5 separate regions of the Homo sapiens genome follow, and all the other regions are linked to region 2. The links are contacts of gene promoters, found by promoter capture Hi-C in blood cells and fetal thymus (Javierre and others, 2016). All regions are on one chromosome and are shown on one strand. Each heading gives the region's core, a stretch centred on a gene start or on the middle of the fragment in contact. The rest is flanking DNA. Distances are from core to core; before and after follow the strand shown. Region 1 overlaps PLXNA2 (plexin A2). Region 2 holds the start of G0S2 (G0/G1 switch 2). Region 3 has its middle 13 kb from the start of MIR29B2CHG. Region 4 overlaps PLXNA2 (plexin A2). Region 5 overlaps LOC124904504 (a long non-coding RNA gene).

What was found. Contacts are between HindIII fragments. The CHiCAGO score rates a contact against its expected background, and 5 or more counts as called.
Region 1: a contact is called between a fragment that was not itself captured here and the fragment with the promoter of G0S2 in region 2, in 1 of 17 cell types (M0 macrophages). The highest score is 5.3, in M0 macrophages.
Region 3: a fragment that was not itself captured here is called in contact with the fragment with the promoter of G0S2 in region 2 in 1 of 17 cell types (neutrophils); the score reaches 5.2 in neutrophils.
Region 4: a contact is called between a fragment that was not itself captured here and the fragment with the promoter of G0S2 in region 2, in 1 of 17 cell types (M0 macrophages). The highest score is 9.0, in M0 macrophages.
Region 5: a fragment that was not itself captured here is called in contact with the fragment with the promoter of G0S2 in region 2 in 1 of 17 cell types (neutrophils); the score reaches 7.7 in neutrophils.

The regions. Positions count from the first base shown.
Region 1 is chr1:208,223,220-208,225,919 of GRCh38, forward strand. The region is part of intron 1 of PLXNA2 (plexin A2); the gene reads right to left. LOC105372884 (a long non-coding RNA gene) reads left to right here. Exons shown (of 5, transcript XR_001738428.3): 4 at 1,430-1,488; 5 at 2,485-2,697. Among named protein-coding and RNA genes, the nearest start is that of PLXNA2, 20 kb to the right of the region's middle. The HindIII fragment of the contact is 6,580 bases long and covers 1-2,700 here.
Region 2 is chr1:209,674,097-209,676,796 of GRCh38, forward strand. G0S2 (G0/G1 switch 2) reads left to right here and starts at 1,316. Exons shown (of 2, transcript NM_015714.4): 1 at 1,316-1,453; 2 at 1,557-2,294. The coding sequence starts at 1,589. The coding sequence ends at 1,900. The region is part of intron 1 of HSD11B1-AS1 (HSD11B1 antisense RNA 1); the gene reads right to left. RefSeq lists an enhancer at 1,428-2,276. The HindIII fragment of the contact is 4,554 bases long and covers 879-2,700 here.
Region 3 is chr1:207,834,302-207,837,001 of GRCh38, forward strand. No RefSeq gene overlaps it. Among named protein-coding and RNA genes, the nearest start is that of MIR29B2CHG, 13 kb to the left of the region's middle. The HindIII fragment of the contact is 939 bases long and covers 798-1,736 here.
Region 4 is chr1:208,066,354-208,069,053 of GRCh38, forward strand. The region is part of intron 12 of PLXNA2 (plexin A2); the gene reads right to left. Among named protein-coding and RNA genes, the nearest start is that of LINC02767, 110 kb to the left of the region's middle. The HindIII fragment of the contact is 3,089 bases long and covers 1-2,700 here.
Region 5 is chr1:211,379,528-211,382,227 of GRCh38, forward strand. LOC124904504 (a long non-coding RNA gene) reads right to left here. Exons shown (of 2, transcript XR_007066868.1): 2 at 1-2,700. Among named protein-coding and RNA genes, the nearest start is that of LINC00467, 1.9 kb to the right of the region's middle. The HindIII fragment of the contact is 246 bases long and covers 1,163-1,408 here.

The DNA.
Region 1 (2,700 bases), core at 98-2,597, 1.5 Mb before region 2:
TCCAACCCACTGTTTTTTTTTTTTTTTAATATGAAAGACACCACAGCCCACAGAAAGGAAACAAATTGACCAGGGCGACTCAAAGTGAGTCAGAAACAGGCTGCAGTCAGAACCCAGACCTCATGACAAAAAGGCAGGCGCTTCCTCCATTGTAGGTGGAAGGGTCCTGGGAGTTAGTTACGTTTTGCCTTCAGGCTGTCCTGTTTTCGGGAAAGTGGATGCCTTTGATAATAGCCCCATGATACGCAGAAGTGAGTGTGGCATTGGGCCTGGACAACGAGGTGGTGCTCAGGGCAGATTCAAAGAGGGGCGGATTAAGGGGCAGAATGAAAGAAAGACACATGTCCGAATGGCTCCTTTCCCCCTTGGGGAGAATGATTGCTTCTGTCCTCTTCTAGGCCCAGGCAGGCCCAGGCAAATGTCACACTCAGGACCGTCACCTATGCTGTAACTTGGGGGCTATGGTGTCCTCTGCCACAACCCCACGGACAGGTCAGATTTAGTCTATGCACAGAAAGCTCCTTCTTCCCAAAGAGTTAGAGCTACAGCAGAAGGGATTAAAGTTAGATATTAAGGGGGACATTCTGCCTAGAGAGGATCTGCAGAGCATCCTGCCAAGGAGATTCTGAAATTTTCTGATATTGAATTTTCCTGGAAGCTGCCTAGGAATCAGTTTACCTAGAGGCAGGGGATTGGTCCCAATGATCTCAGAAGGCTCCTTTTGGTTTAAGATTTCTGTGAGAATAAAATTGTCTAAATGTGAGAGTCTGAGGCCCCATCTTTTCCCCGTGGGTGGAATGCTACTGAAGGACCTGTCTTCATATCCCTTGTGCAGCTGTACGTGCAAGCATTCTGAGCATCGCTCTGTCTAACACCGACCTTAGAGGTAGTCCAGGCACGTTGGGTAGCACAAGGTGAGCAAGAGGGCGAACGCAAAAGCCCCGGGTAATGCCGACGGCTGAAAGTCCTCAATTAGAGTGAAAGGAGTTATCTGGTATTTAAATAATTATTAGAGTGAAGGAATAATCATGGGTTTGAGCTGATTTTTTCCCCACTGTCACTCTGATGGCGTCTATAATATTATTATTCAAATGCCCATGATTCTCATTGAGAACCAAGAGAGAGGAGAGAGTGGGGGTGAGGGGGTGGGGAGCAGGGAGAGGGTGGGGAGAGAGACTCATTTAATCTCCATGTGACAGGGCTGCAGGAGGTACGATTAGTCTTTTTCTTATTTCAGCTGTCACTCATGCACAGACACCGAAGATTGTTATTAGTATATTTTATGCACGCGATTTAAAGGGAAAAGGGGGAGGGGGGTGAGGAGAGAAAGAATTTCCTATGGAAAATAGCGGGACCAAAGGAACAATTTAGATGTCACTTCTGTACCAGCTGCGTTTGCTTCATTAATCGAATGTCATTTTTTCCCTAGACTCTGTGCGGTTATGTGAAGCGAAGTGGCTATACCTTGCCCCAGAGTGAAGAAGGAAGGTGAGAGGAGAGAGGGGAGGAAAATAGGTCTCTGCCTGCATGTACCCTTGGCAGCCTTCTCTGAGAAGGTGACACAGATGACACTGTGGCCCCTCCAGGAGGTGTCAAGACAAATTTGGGTGACAATTTCTACCCAGTCACCCTCTCTTACTATGAGAAGGTGGATCTCCTGCTTATCTTCATATATGCGATTCGTTTCACAGGTGGGATAAACTACATCCACGCTCCAATAACCAAGGAGTAAGAGATGGAAATTTGGGGAGGCTCTCAAAATCTCGATCAGTAATAAGGAAAGAACCCATACTCCAGGCGGTGAGGCAGCAGGGGCTGTGAGAGGGGAGCTGCGTGCGGCTCTCAGCTTTGGACAAGGCCCTTAGATCTTACATATGTGCGTGACAGTGAGGGACCCTCCATCTCTGCAGTGGTGAACAGAGGCAGGGTAATGGGGCACAAGTGCAGGGGCTGGATACTAGCAAGAAAGCGAGGGATTGAGTTAAAGGCTGAATTGTGTCCCCTGGAAATTCCTGTGTTGAAGCCTAACCCTAAGTACCTCAGAATGTGTTCTTATTTGAGACGGTGTCTTTTGTTACTGTTGTTTTGGTTTGGTTTTTTTGAGACGGGGTCTCGCTCTGTCTCCCAGTCTGGAGTGCAGTGGCGCGATCTCAGCTCCTTGCAGCCTCCATCTCCTGGACTCAAACCATCCTCCCACATCAGCCCTAGGAACCACAGGGATCTGTGGGGCCACAGGCACCTGTCTACACCTGGCTAATTTTTATTTTTATTTTTGTAGAGATGAGGTTTCATGATGCTAGCCAGGCTGGTCTTGAACTCCTGGGCTCAAGTGATCCTCTAGCCTCGGCCTCCCAAAATGCTGGGATTACAGGCGTGAGCCATGGCACCCGTCCCTGAGACAGGGTCTCTACAGAGGTAATCAGGTTAAGATGAGGTCACTAGGGTAGGCTCTAATGCGGTGTGATCTGGTGTCCTTATAAAAAGGGGGAAATGTGGAGCCTGAGACAGACACTCACAGAGGCCAGGTGATGTAAAGAGACATCCACATCCTCATCTGACCATCTACAAGCTCAGAAGAGAGGTCTGGAACAGCTCCTTCCCTCACAGCCATCAGAAGGAATCAACTCTGCCCACATCCTCATCTGGGACTTCCCAGTTTCTGAACTTGGAGAAAATAAATTTCTGTTATTTAAGCCACCT
Region 2 (2,700 bases), core at 66-2,565:
TTCTGGCCAGTTTGATTTCCCCTTCTTTCCCCTGCCCCCTCCCTTTCTCTGCTTAAAGGCCTTTGGCCAATTTGCCTCTCCTTTTCCCCAAGTTTGCTAACCCTTTGGCCAATTTGCCTCTCTTTTTCCCCAAGTTTGCTAACTCTAGCATATCCATAACCAAAGCCAAACTAGAACGCTCCCTCAGCCCCAGGTGATTACAGCTAACCCTGGTCAAAATCAATCCTACATCTTCACACGTCCAAGAGTACTCACACTCTGGATTCTTACCTAAGCTGTCTACTACACGCCCTTCTGCCCACAAACTGCTTCAAAGCTGAAGTTGAGCTGGAGCAGTGAAGTTGTACCCCCAAACCCAGGAGGGTGGCAGAGAATTATTGAGGAGAGCATGAAATACTTCCATTCTAAAATGGCAGATGAACTTCTACCAACAGCCCCTTCCATACTTGACCCCCTACCCCCAAGCTCCCAACTCCACTTCTCAAGTGGAAGTGAGAACAATTTGAATTTGAAGGCTCTTCCCTGATACACGGAAGTACATAAGGAAACAGCTCGCAGGCAAAGAGACTAATCTCTCTCTCTTTCTCTCTCTCTCTCTCTCTCTCTCTCTCTCTCACACACACACACACACACACACACACACCTCTGTGCATAAAAGCACCATCAATGAATAGTTTTCTATCAACTGACTCTAGTTATACATGCATGTACCTCTAAATAAAACCAACCAGGCAGGAAAGAAACAATATTAGCACATATTGCTTTATCCAAGCGTAACCTGTTCTGTCCTGTTACCCAGATCCTTCCCCCTTGCCTTCTCCTCTCTGATCCATTGCCACACACGTGGGAAGGTGACAACCCTTCCGAATAAAAATGAAAGCTTTCTTCTTTAGATGGAACCCCCAAATTCCCTCATTATTTATAATGTCAGGCTGTCCTGGACAAGGGAAGCTGTGCACCCGCTGACACCAGTAAGAAGGTTGCCGCCATGTCAGAGATGTCCGCGGACACCTCCCTGGGCTCCGGGTCCTCCCCTGCGCTCGCCTGGAGTGGGACCTTCGCGTGCACACTGGCCTTCCCACGCGCCCCGCTGCGATGGCACCCGCGCCGGGCCCCCTAGCTCACACAGTCGGAGCGTGCTCAGCGCGTGGCCACCTCCTGCCAGGTCCCAGCCGGGTTCCACCCCCTCCTTTTCCCCTCCTCTTCTTCCTCCCCCTCCGAGTTCCCCTGGCTCTGACCGCGCTGGCCTGGGCCGGAGAGCCCAGGAGGCGTGTCTCAGAGAAAAGATATAAGCGGCCCCCGGACGCTAAAGCGGTGCCAGCGGCGGAGTCTCCAACTGGGAGAGCTGCAGCTGCCGAGAGGAGGAGAACGCTGAGGTCGGTCGGACCAACGGACGCGCTGACCGCTGCCAACTGCAGCTCGCGCTGCCTCCTGCTCGCGCCGTGCCACTAAGGTAGTCCGCCTTTCTATGAGCCCTCCCCAAGATTAGCTGGGTGCGGGGTGGTGGGAGCCGTTCTTTGGTGGCTGAAGCCCCTCTCCTGCTGCTCCTCCTGCAGGTCATTCCCGCCTCCGAGAGCCCAGAGCCGAGATGGAAACGGTCCAGGAGCTGATCCCCCTGGCCAAGGAGATGATGGCCCAGAAGCGCAAGGGGAAGATGGTGAAGCTGTACGTGCTGGGCAGCGTGCTGGCCCTCTTCGGCGTGGTGCTCGGCCTGATGGAGACTGTGTGCAGCCCCTTCACGGCCGCCAGACGTCTGCGGGACCAGGAGGCAGCCGTGGCGGAGCTGCAGGCCGCCCTGGAGCGACAGGCTCTCCAGAAGCAAGCCCTGCAGGAGAAAGGCAAGCAGCAGGACACGGTCCTCGGCGGCCGGGCCCTGTCCAACCGGCAGCACGCCTCCTAGGAACTGTGGGAGACCAGCGGAGTGGGAGGGAGACGCAGTAGACAGAGACAGACCGAGAGAGGAATGGAGAGACAGAGGGGGCGCGCGCACAGGAGCCTGACTCCGCTGGGAGAGTGCAGGAGCACGTGCTGTTTTTTATTTGGACTTAACTTCAGAGAAACCGCTGACATCTAGAACTGACCTACCACAAGCATCCACCAAAGGAGTTTGGGATTGAGTTTTGCTGCTGTGCAGCACTGCATTGTCATGACATTTCCAACACTGTGTGAATTATCTAAATGCGTCTACCATTTTGCACTAGGGAGGAAGGATAAATGCTTTTTATGTTATTATTATTAATTATTACAATGACCACCATTTTGCATTTTGAAATAAAAAAACTTTTTATACCATATCTCATGTAATTCCTGAGAGGTGTGGTGTCCTGGGGTGGGAAGCAGGGAGGGTGAGCAGGTGGGCGATGGTGATGGGTTCTTACCTGAGCACTGCAGAGGGAGCAGCTTCCTGAGGGTCAGACACTTGCTTCACACCTAGGAACTGTGTAATAAGTTACTACATGCATATAAGTCTGTTGAGGACTTGTTTTTCCTTCTTGTTAGGGGTGGGAAGAGAGAAAATTTTATAACTTCCGTGAGATTTAGCATTTTAACATCAAAAGGTAGATCAACTTCTGAGCTACAGTGAGTAGGAGATAACTGATTAATTCTAAGGCAGAAAAGCTCTTTGTTCCTTACACCTGTGCACCAGAGGTTCCCATGGCTGATACCTTTTTCTTCCCAACTATATTTTAGACAGACAGA
Region 3 (2,700 bases), core at 17-2,516, 1.8 Mb before region 2:
ATCTCTACCTCTCTGGGCCACGCAGTCTCATGTTTTTAACCACTCTTCACGTGCCAGCAGCTCTGCTCTGTACTTCAACTAGTAGTTTGACATTTTCCCTCCTAATTGAGATCAGGAACTGGAGCGGCCCTCCAAAAGTGGCCTGAGAAGGCCAAAGGGCAGCCGGCTCTGATCTCCCAGAGAACCTTCTTCCTCCCTTAGGAGTCCTCACTCCCTGTCTTGCTTAATCTTCCCCTGCCCCTCAACTCCCAACCCAGCCCTCCCATACACACAATAATTAAAACCTTGCTATGTGCCTTCTTCAGACCCTCTCAGTCTTGAGCTTAGGAATCTGCCAATAAGCCTTTGTTGAATTATTTCTGTATGACACACACTAAGCCATTTCACATATATTATCTCCATTAATCTGCTCAATTTCCCTTAGCTGGGAATCAATCCCAATGCTCACCTGCTCCTTTTTCGAGAGTTAGCTGGATAGATTCTTTCCACGTGGCCAAACTCCAGCAAGGAGAAGGTGCTTTGATACTCTTGATGTTGGACAAGAGTCTGAGACCCATGGACTCTACTAGACTAAGCAATATGTCTACCTGTATCCTTCACTCTTTCCCAGATGAGATAGACAGCAATCCTGCAGGCCCCACGTTTGCCATGATTGTTCTTCCTTCTCCAGATGCCAACAGTTTAACCCCTTGTTACAATTTAGAGCCAAGATAATAGGCTGTCATGTCTCATGTCACACGTGGCTCATCTGTAGCCTCCAATTAGAGTCTGAACTTTTCAAAGAAAGGGTCCAGGCAAGCTTCAAAATTCTTTTTTCATTCTTGCCAAAGCGATACTTCTAGCAGCACTCAATCAATACTTGCTGATTGCCTGATTGGACTAGATTAGGCCTGTCAACATGACAACCCCTAAATCCCCAACAAACACACTGGAAATGGGCTCACTTGATGTGAATCCCTTCCCTGCCCACCCACACAGGTCCTCTGAGGTTTCTCCTACTCTCTCCTTCCTTTGATCTAAATGTATCAAACAAGAATGTGCTCTTCTAACTGCAGCTTCTGGAAAGGGTCCCCAAGCAAATATCAAAGGGACACTCAACCTGTAGTGTCACAAACACCAGCAATCACCTCACCCCTCTGCCTGACGGATGCCAAGGACAGCTGGCTCTGGACTAAAAACAGTGCAACCCCAAATCTGAGCCCTGGGGATCTTTTATGTGTTTTCCTTTTCCCTGTGACCCCATGTGAGGCTGAGAACAAAGGAGACAGAAATCAGCTGTCCTCATCACACAGGTGGGAAGGCCACTGTCAGACCCACCCTCTCCCAGGGAATCAAAGACCAGAGACTCTAATGGTTCCCCATGGCTACCAACTGTAAATTTCAACTAAGAGTAGAAAGTGGCCTTACCTGATACGGTAACAGAAGAAGAAAGGAAAGGAGCAGAGGAGTGCCACCCAGGGCCCTAGGAGGTAGGTGGAGAGGTGGAGCTTTGCATGCCTTCAAGTGCCTCCTGCGGTGGGCTAAAACTCTTACTGTTATTAAGAACATACAGCAACCAAGGAAAAGAGGGGGACAAACCCTCTACTTTATGGCCTAGATCCAGGCATTTCACAGATTCTGATGCGCTCCAGACAGAAGCTCAGGGTCCTTTTGAGACATGAAGAGTCTTGACTGCACAAGAGAAGACCAAAAGTTCTTTGGAGATGGTTCTAGGTCCCCACTTTAGTTAATTAACAAGCTTTTACCAAGTACCTCCTAATTCTTCTAAGTACTTCCAACACCTACGACACAGCCAGGCACACAGTGTGGATGCTGCTACTGAATCCAGGACAGGAGGGAAAAGAGAATCAAAATTAAATATAAGATACGGTTCATAACCAAAGGCGTTCCTGAAATAGCTTCCAGAGCTAACATGATTTGGGAACAGTTATAAAACAGCCTCACTGCTAGGAAGCTTCTCGTGGGCCTGGACTGCGTCTTACAGCCCTTTAAGCCACCACATGGTGCACATCCATGTCCAGTAACCATCCACTGGGCAAACAGGCCGATGAACACAGGAAGGAAACACAGCACAACTTCCGTGAGGCCTACTTCTAAACATTCGAAATACCAAGTTTACCCCTCATTTTTGGAATCATACAATGCTGAGATACAACTGACTGGCCACTTCCTGCCTACCTGTAGGCTATCCCCAGAGTCGTCATGTATCACCTTTGTATAAGAAATGTGTCCCAGCAAGCCAATCTCAACATTTAACCTCCTTCCCACACCCATCCCAACACTTGGCTCCCCCATCTCCTTTTTCTCTCTCATATGCAGAACCAAGTAACAAGTTAAAAAATGGCAGGAACTCTTTCTGAGTAAACTTTGCTCCTTGGCCAAGATGATAAAGCTGAGCTTCACCGTGGAATGCGTCCCTCCTCCCGGTGATTGGTAACCTGCTCAGGCACAGAATGGAAGCTGGCCAGCTGACCTCCAGGACTCAGCCATCTCCCTGGGGCCTGCAGAAGGACCAGGGACAGAGGCTACCTCCCTGCAGCCCTTGTTGGGCCCCACGGCCCTGACCACCACCGACCCCCACTTTGGGAGATGAGGAATAGAACTAGATTCTCCATCTGGCTGAGAGCCCGTTTACAGGGCTCTGGCTTCCTCCCAAGGCTGCCCTCAGTCCCACCAGACCTCTATGTTCTCCTTGTCCCC
Region 4 (2,700 bases), core at 94-2,593, 1.6 Mb before region 2:
CCCGCCCCTCACACTTGGGACCCCCAGAGTCCTGGCCCTGTCCTCTTATGGACTACAGTCTTGTGCTGCATATTGACGTTTTGGTCAATGACGGACCATATATACGACGATGGTTCTTTAAGATCATAATGGAGCTGAAAAATTCCTACCACCTTGTGGCATTGTGGCAGTCATAAGTCATAGGAAAGCCTAGCATATACAATTATGTACAGCACATAATACTTGATAATGATGCTAAATGACTAGGTTATTGGTTTATGTACTCACTATATTTTTTATTGTTATTTTAGAGTGTACTCCTTCTACTTATTTAAAAAAAGCTAACTGGAAAACAGCCTCAGGGAGGACCTTCAGGAGGGATTCCAGAAGAAGGCATTGTCATCATAGGAGACGACAGCTCTATGCATGCTATTGCCCCTGAAGACCTCACAGTGGGACAAGATAAGGAGGTGGAAGACAGTGATATGGATGATCCTGACCCTGGGTAGGCCTAGGCTGATGTGTGTCTTTGTGTCTTAGTCTTTAACAAAACAAATTTAAAAAGTAAAAAAGTGAATTTCAAAAATAGAAAAAATATTATAGAATAAGGATATAAAGAAAGAAAATATTTTTGTACAGCTGTACAATGTATGTGTTTTAAGGTAAGTGTTATTACAAAGAGTCAAAAGGTTAAAAAATTAAGTCTATAAAGTAAAAAGTTATAGTAACTGGCCGGGCGCAGTGGCTCATGCCTGTAATCCCAGCACTTTGGGAGGCCGAGGCAGGCGGATCACCTGAGTTCGGGAGTTTGAGACCAGCCTGAGCAACATGGGGAAACGCTGTCTCTATTAAAAATCCAAAATTAGCCAGGCTTGGTGTTGCATGCCTGTAATCCCAGCTACTCGGGAGGCTGAGGCAGGAGAATCACTTGAAGCCGGGAGACAGAGGTTGCAGTGAGCCGAGATCGCACCATTGCACTCCAGCTTGGGCAACAAGAGTGGAACTCCGTCTCAAAAAAAAAAAAAAAAGTTATAATAACTAAGGTTAATTTATAATTAAAGAAGGAAACAATTTTTTAATGAATTTAGTGTAGCCTAAGTGCATACTGTGTTTATAGTCTATGGTAGTGTACAGTAACGTCCTAGGCCTTCACATTCACTCACCACTCACTGAACTCACCCAGAGCAACTTCCAGTCCTGCAAGCTCCATTCATGGTAAATACCCTATATGGCGTACCATTTTTAATCTTTTATATCATATTTTTACCATCCCATTTTTATGTTTAGATACACAAGTACTTACCATTGTGTTACAATCGCCCATGGTGTTCAGGACCAGTCACATGCAGTACAGGTTTGCAGCCTAGGTGTGTAGTAGGGTACACTGTCTAGGTTTGTGTAAATACATGCCATGATGTTCACACAAGGATGAAATCGTCTAATGACACATTTGTCAGAATGTATCCCCATGGTTAAGCGATGCATGACTGTACATGTGCTCGCTGGGAGAGCTCAAGGGCCCCCACAGCTATAGCTTTATAGGGTGTAAAGCCTCTATGCATTTGACATGCTGTTCCCTGTGCTGGTCAAGCATGTCCACTGACAAATGCCTACCCATCCTCAAGTCTCTACTCAAAAGATGCCTCCTCAGGGAGGCCTCCCTGGACTCCCTTAGTAGATTTACTAGCCCCTTCTTCTACCCTCCCACTTCCTTCTATGAACACCTCCAGGACCACAATTGCCACACTGCATTGTAACTGCTTATTCCCTCAATAAGACGATAACTATCTTGGGACAAGGGACTATCTAGCTTTTCTTAGGAAACTAATCCTTAGCACGCTGCCTGGAACGAGTAACTGTCAATAAATATCCCCAATTCTCTGTTAAAAGGAAATGCTGGTCTCAACCAGACACTAGAACAGACTGTATTCTTTAATGATGACTGGATGAGTGGAGGTACCTAACTGTTGCTTGAGAGTGATGTAGTATTTTAACATCAGGATCATTAAACAGCTCTTCCTGCAATCTCCCTTGCTTTAATTTAAGCCAATTTCTGGTTTGATTCCTCATCGAATGGAGGACTGAACAGCTGCCTCCTCATCAAACATCTTTTAGCTACTGAAGACAGCAATTAAGTCACCCCTGGCCTTTGCTTCTGCAGTCCTTCCAGCCTTTTCACCGAAGATCTTGGTTTCTAAACCCTTTGATCATTTTGGATGCTTTTCTGTGGACTCTCGGATTTCTATGCATCTTTTGAGAGTGTAGTGACCCGCACTCGGGTCGTGCCTTCAGCAAAGGCCTGATTGATTGATGTGCAGTAAGGAGGGCCTGCGAAGATGACTTCCTTTGCTTGTCACACACGCCATTAACCAGGCTGGCCCTGGGCAAAACCCAGTGGAGGATAAACATTTGGTATCTTTCCCATGTTCTTTTGTGTTTTCCTCCCTGGGGTTCTTTCCCCCACTTTAGGCACCTTTCATTCAGCTGTTCCCTCCTCCCTTTCTGTATTTGTATACAGCAAGTACGGAAAGCTGTATTTGCGTCTTAATGGGACTTTTAAGTTGTGTTATTACTTGGCCTTAAGAGCACTGATATCTATTGACTGGTTGTAGAATAAAAAGTGTGTATATCGTTTGCAGGATTCAGAAGGAAAACAAGGGAAACACTTTAGGGTAGAGAGCTCAGGCTAGCAGCCCTAAACCCTGCCCCAGGAGCAGTCAG
Region 5 (2,700 bases), core at 36-2,535, 1.7 Mb after region 2:
TGGTAAAGAGATCCAAGCATTAGGCACTGTCCTAAGAATGTTACATATATTAACATATTAATCTTAGAACAACCTCATGAGGTATATGCTGTATTATCCCCACTTTACAGATGAAACAACTGAGGCACAGAGAGTTTATGTAATAAGCTCTAGGTTACTCAGCTAATAAGTGGTAGTGCTAGGATCTGAATCCAGGCAGTCTGGCCTCACAGGCTCCACTCTTAACCACTACACAGACTGCCTCATATGGATACTGATGAATTCTAAACACACACACACACATATATATAAAGATACACCTTTAAATGAGTTAGAAGAGTAACTACTATTCATAGAATAAAAATCAAATATAACTTTCAAACCACTAAAGCGGGAAAAAAACTGGAAAAAAAGACTGTCAAACCAAAGGCAGTAAAGAGAACAGGAAGCATGATACATAGAAAAAAATGAGTGAGATATATCTATGAATAAGTTAAGTGTTAGTATTAACAGGGAGAAATCTCAAATGAGGGGGACATGTACATGCTTTTAAAAAACATACCGAAAACAAAATAGAGTTAATAACTGCATTAGCTTTATAGTCAGAGAAACTCTTGCACACGTGTACCAGGAAACATGTACAAGAAAATTTACTGTCAGCAGTTGGTAACAGCAAAAAAAAAACCAAACAACAAAACAAAAAAACTGGGGCAAAAAAATAACCTGTGTTGGCATGGAATGGAGCAACAGCAGCTCTCCTACATTGCTGATGGAGGGTAAGTTAGTACAACCACTGGAGAACAATTTGGCAATATCAAAGTTGAACTGTGCAAACCCTTCCACCTTGCAATTCCATTTCTAGACATTATCCTAAGGAAATTCTTACCATATGTCTAAGAAGCTGTGTGCAAGAACTAACTCATGTTATAATGACAGAAATCAGGAATCATGAAATTGCTAGCAACTGGAGAATGGATAAATGGTGGTACAATTATACAATGGAATACTATTCAGCAGTTAAAATAAAACTAGAACTACAGGAATCATCCTGGATAAATTTTACATACATAATTATAGGTGGCAAAAGTAAGTGACATGCATATCATTTATATTAGGTTTAAAAAGCATAAAACAGTACTTTATGCTACTTAACATCGCTACATGTATTTGGAGCATACATAAAAGCTTTCATGGGAATGACAGATACCAAATTCAATGAAGTAGTTAATTTCAGAGAGGAAGAGAGGGAGAATGAGATTGCAGGCAGTTTCACAAGGAGCTCTAACTGAATGTTAAAATCTGAAGCAAATAAGAGAAAATGTTAAAATGGGATAAAGCTAGATGGTTGGTATACAAGTGTTCATTATATTATTTTCTGTAACTGTACATTCTGGTAATATTTCATATTAAACATTTTAAAGGAAAGTTAAGCTTCCAAGATTCTATAAAAAGAACAAAATAAACCCAAAGAGATAAGAAGAAATTAATGAAGGCATACATTAATGAAAGAGAAATTACTTTTAAGACAGATTTTATCTATAAAACCAAAAGCTGGTTTGATAAATATGATCAAGAAAAAGACTCCAATACAATATATAAGAATATATATATAAGAATATATAAGAATGGTTGAGAACAATATGAGATTTTTTTAAATGTTAGAAAATATAGCTGAAATACTTTTTTTTTAAAGATGGAGTCTCGCTCTGTCCCCCAGGCTGGAGTGCAGTAGCAAAATCTCAGCTCACTGCAAGCTCCGCCTCCCGGGTTCAAGCCATTCTCCTGCTTCAGCCTCCTGAGTAGCTGGGACTACAGGCGCCCGCCACCATGCCCGGCTAATTTTTCATTGTCGTATTTTTAGTAGAGACGGAGTTTCACCGTGTTAGCCAGGATGGTCTCGATCTCCTGACCTCGTGATCCGCCCTCCTCGGCCTCCCAATGTGCTGGGATCACAGGCGTGAGTCACCGCACCCGGCCAATACTTTTCTAGAAAAAACTAATTTTCTCAAGAAGCAAAAGAAAAAATTCTAGGTATCAATAACGATGGACGCTATATAAAAAACAAAACTATCCATTAAGATGGCACCACACCCAGAAGGCTTTAAAGATGAGTTCTTCAAAACCTAAGAAATGTATCATTCACACATGCTATGTCTATTCCAGGTCATACAAAAATAAGTTAACCTGTCTGACTCCTAGCACAACCTGATACCAAAACTAGACAAGGACAGCAAAAGAAAACCATAAGCCAATCTAACTTAGGTGCATACATGAAAATCCAAAATTAACTACACAGCAAATTGCATCCAGCAATATATTGAAAAAATAAGATACCAGGATTCTAAGTTTGGCTCACCATTAGAAAATCTATTATTGTAGTTATTTTATTGTAGAGTAATGGAAAAAAGGCCATACAATCATCTCAAAGACTGATACTGAAAATACTTGGTAAAACTTAGTCATTTGCTGATTAAAAAAAAAACCGATATGGTAAACTACGAAAAGAACATAATTTGCCTATACACCCACACACACACACACCATAAACCTGCAGAAGATATCTTGAATGAAACCTAAGATGCAATCCAAAATAACTCCTGGTAAGAAATAAGTACCTCCGGCTACTATTCAGTGTTGCACTGGATTCTTGGGAAAAGCCAAAATTGTTCTTTACAGATAAATTCTTACCTACAAATCAAAGAGGACTGCCTGTCAAATTTT